Regions from separate parts of the Homo sapiens genome. Here region 1 is linked to region 2. The links are contacts of gene promoters, found by promoter capture Hi-C in human tissues and cell types (Jung and others, 2019). All regions are on one chromosome and are shown on one strand. Each heading gives the region's core, a stretch centred on a gene start or on the middle of the fragment in contact. The rest is flanking DNA. Distances are from core to core; before and after follow the strand shown.

Evidence for each region. The method cuts DNA at HindIII sites, captures the fragments that hold promoters and counts their contacts. A contact is called where the count stands out against the background at its distance.
Region 1: a contact is called between the fragment with the promoter of AOC2 here and a fragment that was not itself captured in region 2, in 10 of the 25 tissues and cell types used here (H1 embryonic stem cells, IMR-90 fibroblasts, adrenal gland and 7 more).

The regions. Positions count from the first base shown.
Region 1 is chr17:42,843,134-42,845,833 of GRCh38, reverse strand. It overlaps AOC2 (amine oxidase copper containing 2), which reads right to left and starts at 1,254. Exons shown (of 4, transcript NM_009590.4): 1 at 1-1,254. The coding sequence starts at 1,207. PSME3 (proteasome activator subunit 3) reads right to left here. Exons shown (of 11, transcript NM_005789.4): 11 at 2,074-2,700. The HindIII fragment of the contact is 18,620 bases long and covers 1-2,700 here.
Region 2 is chr17:42,601,686-42,604,385 of GRCh38, reverse strand. All of the region lies in intron 1 of RETREG3 (reticulophagy regulator family member 3), which reads left to right. Among named protein-coding and RNA genes, the nearest start is that of RETREG3, 6.3 kb to the left of the region's middle. The HindIII fragment of the contact is 8,726 bases long and covers 1-2,700 here.

The DNA of each region.
Region 1 (2,700 bases), core at 5-2,504, 240 kb before region 2:
TGGCTTGATAGGGGCAGTCCACTCCCCGCACCAAGCCTCGGCTGTTACGGCCGAGTCCAAAGCTGCTATCCAAATAGCGAGTCAGCATCGTCTTGGGTGAATCGGCACCATAGATAGATACACACTCCTGGACACTGACTTCATAGGCTATTCGCTCACCCTGGAACCGAACATCAAAAATCCTCAGGCCGCTGAACACCCCATGGCCAAAGGTAAATGACCAGAGGGAGGATACCACCAGGTTTCCTTGCACACTGTACTGGGAACCCTGGGGCGAGAACTGAAGAGGGGGAAGAGGACCTGGAGAGTTCCGAGACCTCAGGGATGAAGCTCCATTTGGTGGAGGTAGAGGGACTCTAACCACTTCCAACCGGCCAGACTTAAACTCCCGTTCCAACTGGCCCAAGTCTGCATAGTAGTGCCCAAGGTAGAAGACCTGCTGGACAGTCCAGTGGGCAGGGTCCAGGGCCCTGTGGTCCAGTAGTAGCTCCAGCCCCACGGGGTGAAGGAAAAGACCAACCCCTGAGATGTTATGGTAGAGGGCCATCCAGGTAGCTCGGTCCCCTGAGCGCAAGCCCCGAGGGGTGGCATGCACAGCTGCCAGGGTAGAGCCATTGTAGTTGAAGGTGGACGACAGGAAGATGGGTGCCTTGGGTAGCTCCACCTCTTTCAGATGCCTCCACATCTGTGTAAACTCAGCTCTCAGCACCGGGCGACGGTGATAGGGCAGGGGCCCGCCGTGACGCTCCACAGTCACATCCCGCATGTACGAGGGGTGAGGCAGCGGCCCCACCACCAGCTCACTCACATTGGGTTGGGGTTGTCCACCAAAGAGGACGATGGCCAGTGCCTCCCGGGCAGGTGGGGGGCTCCCCCTGTCCAGGTGGGCCAGGGCTGCAGCCTTGGGGGGCAGCTGCAGCTCCACTGAGAAGATGCAGTTGTCCGAGGGCTGAGCCTGGGCTGCGTCCACCAGCCCTGGCCCCAGCCGCTGGGTCAGAAAGCGCATCACAGCTGTCAACTCCTCTCGGCTCAGGTCTGCAAACAGCTGGCTCTGGCCAGGGTGTGGCCAGGGCTGGGCCCTATGGGATACAGAGGGGCAGTGGGGAGGCTGGCTGGAACCACCTGGGCTGGTCAGCAAAACATAGGCCAGGGCAAAGATGGTAATGAGGGACAGTGCCAGGAACGCCAGGACTATCTTGAGATGCATGGTGGATGCTGAGAGCTGAAATCAGAATTCTAACAGCTGCTCCTTCCAGTTACTGACATCAAGTCGGGGTTTATATTCGCTAGGATGGATAGGAAGGGAGAAAACTCCACCCCATGGGTTGGGCAGGAAATTTCTGACCTTGATTTATGTAATTCTGTTCCAATTTTCTGTCCTGTGGTTTGGCCCAGGGCACTGCTTCCACATGCATAGCCTCTTCCTTGCCCCTGAACTCCCACTGGTAGCAGTCAGTACCAACTACTGATTTCCATCATTTAGACCAGATGAAAGGGAATCTGGGTTAACGATGCTAACCTCCAGTTTCCACCTGGAATGGGTCTCAGGAAGAGTACAAACCTCAGATGCCCAATTAAGTTCTGCAGCCTGCATGCAAGCACTAAGCTGTCCATTTTCCTACCTCCTGGCAGGAACTGCATCCCAACAGCTCCAGGATTCACTGCCATGTTCAGCAGTAAGCACTGAATTCTACTTGTTGCCTAATGCCAAGCCCTTGATTTGTAGTCAGGCCATTTCCAACCAGTGGAGTGGCTGAGGGCCTGGGCTTAGTAATCAGGTTTGTCCACCAATCCCAGTTCCCTCAGCTGTGTAACCTTAGCGGAAATACTTATCCTGAGTCTCAGTGTCCTCATCTGTAACAAATAGATACAACTATCCTATAGATTCCTGAAGATTAAATGTGATCATGCACATTAGGTACTTAACAGCCTGGCACAGGGGAGGCACTCACAAACCGCTAGCTTTTGGTAGTCATCTCTGAAACAGAACAGAGCAGCTGCTCCTCCATTGTTCAAGACCTTAAACTCTTTTTACAGAGACAACGAGGGGATCATTGGAAACCAGAAGGCTACTTGCAAGGTGGAAGATGAGGAAACTTTATTTCAGAGGGAGATAGATTCCTAGGCAGCCCTCCAAGTAATTTGAAAACCAAAACTAGGAGTCTCCTCAAGAAACTGAAGACATTATTCAGGAAGAATTAGTATAAGGTAAAGAAAATGACTGGGTAGGACGCGCCTTGAACCAGTTCATTCCTTACACATGGAACGATAGCAGCCTCTACTGGCAGTTCATGGGTATCACTCGGGAAGGAAGGAACTAGGATCTTCTGAAAGTAGGGAGAGAAGGCAGCTTAGGTCTGGGAAGAGCTAACTTTCCCATAATTCAGACTGAACACAAATGAAGCACCCAACCTTGCTCAGTAGGCAGAAGCCTCAGTCTTTCCACTATACTGGGGAAAAGATTCAGCTCAACTGGCATAAGGACACACAACAGGGTGGCTAGGTGTCCATGGAGGTGGGTGTCCAAGCGTGCACACATATGAGCATGAGTACATCCCTAGCCACCAGAGCATTGCACCAGGGTCTGCGGCTTTAGAAAGAGGTCAAAGTACCTGTATTTTTAATAATTTCTTGACATGGTAAAAGAATTTTACATTACGATCCATGGGTGATAGGGTGAGGAGGAGGGGCAGTGGAACA
Region 2 (2,700 bases), core at 131-2,630:
CTTTGTGGTTTTTAACAATCTGTGAATCTACATAGTCTATGAATTAGGAATATTGTTTTGGAGCAGTCCACAAGCTGAGTCCCAAGTAGAGATCTCTGTTGGGATCTGCTTTTTGCAGTCACTAGTCTCAGTGAACCATACTGTATTTCTAGGAGGTTATTATAGAATTTGTTATTTCACAAATGAAATGTAAAAATTTTATTTTTGTCCGCCCCCCCAAAAAAATAAATAAATAAAAATGACCCAAAAAAGTGATTAAGGATATACAGCAATTCTGAGTTAGAAGGTTAGGATTTGAGTAAAAAATAATAGAAACAAGAAATGGAAGATGGGGAGCCCATTTAAGTAGAGATATTTGTTCTGTTAAAAAAAATCTACACATCTGATTTCTTTTCTTTTTTTTTTTTTTGAGACGGAGTCTCGCTCTGTCGCCCAGGCTGGAGTACAGTGGCGCGATCTCGGCTCACTGCAAGCTCCACCTCCCGGGTTCACGCCAGTCTCCTGCCTCAGCCTCCCGAGTAGCTGGGACTACAGGCGCCCGCCACCATGCCCACCTAATTTTTTGTATTTTTAGTAGAGACCGGGTTTCACCGTTTTAGCCAGGATGGTCTCAATCTCCTGACCTCGTGATCCGCCCGCCTCGGTCTCCCAAAGTGCTGGGATTACAGGCGTGAGCCACCGCGCCCGGCTACACATCAGATTTCTAATGAAATCTGTTGAGTGAATGTTCCTGATGATAGTCTTTGCAGGGTTCTTGTCTTTGTGAGCCGAGAAGACTCCCAAGGATGCCTTGGTTTATTTACTTCCCCTCTCTTTACCTTTAGTTTTTATCTGCCCTAATTGTATGGTTGAGTGCTTTCTCTCCACTGTTAGCAGCTAGCTGATTTCATTTCTGGTTTTTTTGCAAGCAACAACTGTCACTGCATGATATAGGTTGGGTTAATTTTTCCTTTGAATTTACCGGTGACTTGGGCTCATTAACCAGGCGGTCACAAGTGCTGTACAGTAACAGGCTTTCTGTCCCTGTAGAATGGGATGCTTTGTTTTGAAGTGCCCTTGAGACAATCTTAATCTGTAATAACAAAGGAACCTAGAAATCATGTCTTTGAAAATAGACATGTGGTCATTATTTATGATTATAGCAAACTTTAATTTACTGGTACTAATAGTGAGGCTCCATGGTATAGTTAATCACAAAAGTTTATGTTTGGTTCTGGAATTTCTCACGATGTTTCTGGACACCAATTGCTATTCCAGGGATATTTTATTTAGACTGATCATTTAATTGGATTTTAGTCCCTGACAGAGTGGAGGGACAGTTCACAAAAGGGGAAAAAAAAATCAATGGATATATAAAATTTCACTCTCACAAATAAGAAAAGAATTCAAATATATGTAAATGGAAATTATTTACTAATTTCTATCTTAAGTTTTTTTTTTGGCGGGGGACAGGATCTCACTGTCGCCCAGGCTCGAGAGCAGTGGTGTGATCATGGCTTATTGCAACCTCAACCTCTGGGCTCAAGCCATCCTCCCACCTCAGCCTCTCAGGTAGTGGGGACTACAGGTGTGTGTCACCACACCTGGTTAATTGTTTTGTATTTTTCGTAGAAACAAGGTTTCACCATGTTGCCCAGGCTGGTCTTGAACTCCTGGGCTCCAGCAGTCCACCCACCTTGGCCTCCCAAAGTGCTGGGATTACAGGTGTGAGCCTCCACACCTGGCCTTAAGTATTTTTAATGATCATAATTAATTCTGGGGAAAATATGGAAAAATGGGCATATGGCTGATAGGAACATAAATTGGACAGCCTTTCTAGCAAGTAGTTTGGTAACATATTTTAAGCCACTTAAGAAGCTTTTCCAGGGCTGGGGGAAATGGAGAAAGAATACTAATGGGTATGGGTTTCTTTTGGAGTGATGAAAATGTTCTGAAATTACATAAGGCTATTAGTCGTACAGCATTGTGATTTTTTTTTCATCTCTGCTGCTGGCAGATGAATTGAAAGAGAATTTTATCGTATACAAACCATTATCTCAATAAAGCTATTTTCTTACTTTTTTTTTTTTGAAACGGAGTCTTACTCTGTGGCCCAGACTGGAGTGCAGTGGCATGATCTCAGCTCACTGCAACCTCTGCCTCCCAGATTCAAGCAGTTCTCCTGCCTCAGCCTCCCAAGTAGCTGGGACTACCGGCGTGCACCACCATGTCTTGGCTGATTTTTGTATTTTTAGTAGAGATGGAGTTTCACCATGTTGGCCAAAGTGGTCTTGAACTCTTGACCTCAAGTGACCCACCTGCCTCGGCCTCCCAAAGGCTGGGATTACAGGTGTGAGCTACGGTGCCCGACCAATAAAGCTATTTGTTTAAAATAGTTAATGCCTTTGACCCAGTAACATGCTCAGTGATGTATAGTTCAGCTTTTATTACATCAAAAAATTGGAAACTTTTGGCTGGGCGCAGTGGCTCATGCCTATAATTCTCAGCACTTTGGGAGGCCGAGGCAGGCAGGTCACCTAAGGTCGGGAATTCAAGACCAGCCTGACCAACAATGGAGAAACCCCATCTCTACTAAAAATGCCAAATCAGCCGGGCATGGTGGCGCATGCCTGTAATCCCAGCTACCTTGGGAGGCTGAGGCAGGAGAATCCGTTGAACCTGGGAGGCAGAGGTTGTGGTGACCCGAGATCGCGCCACTGC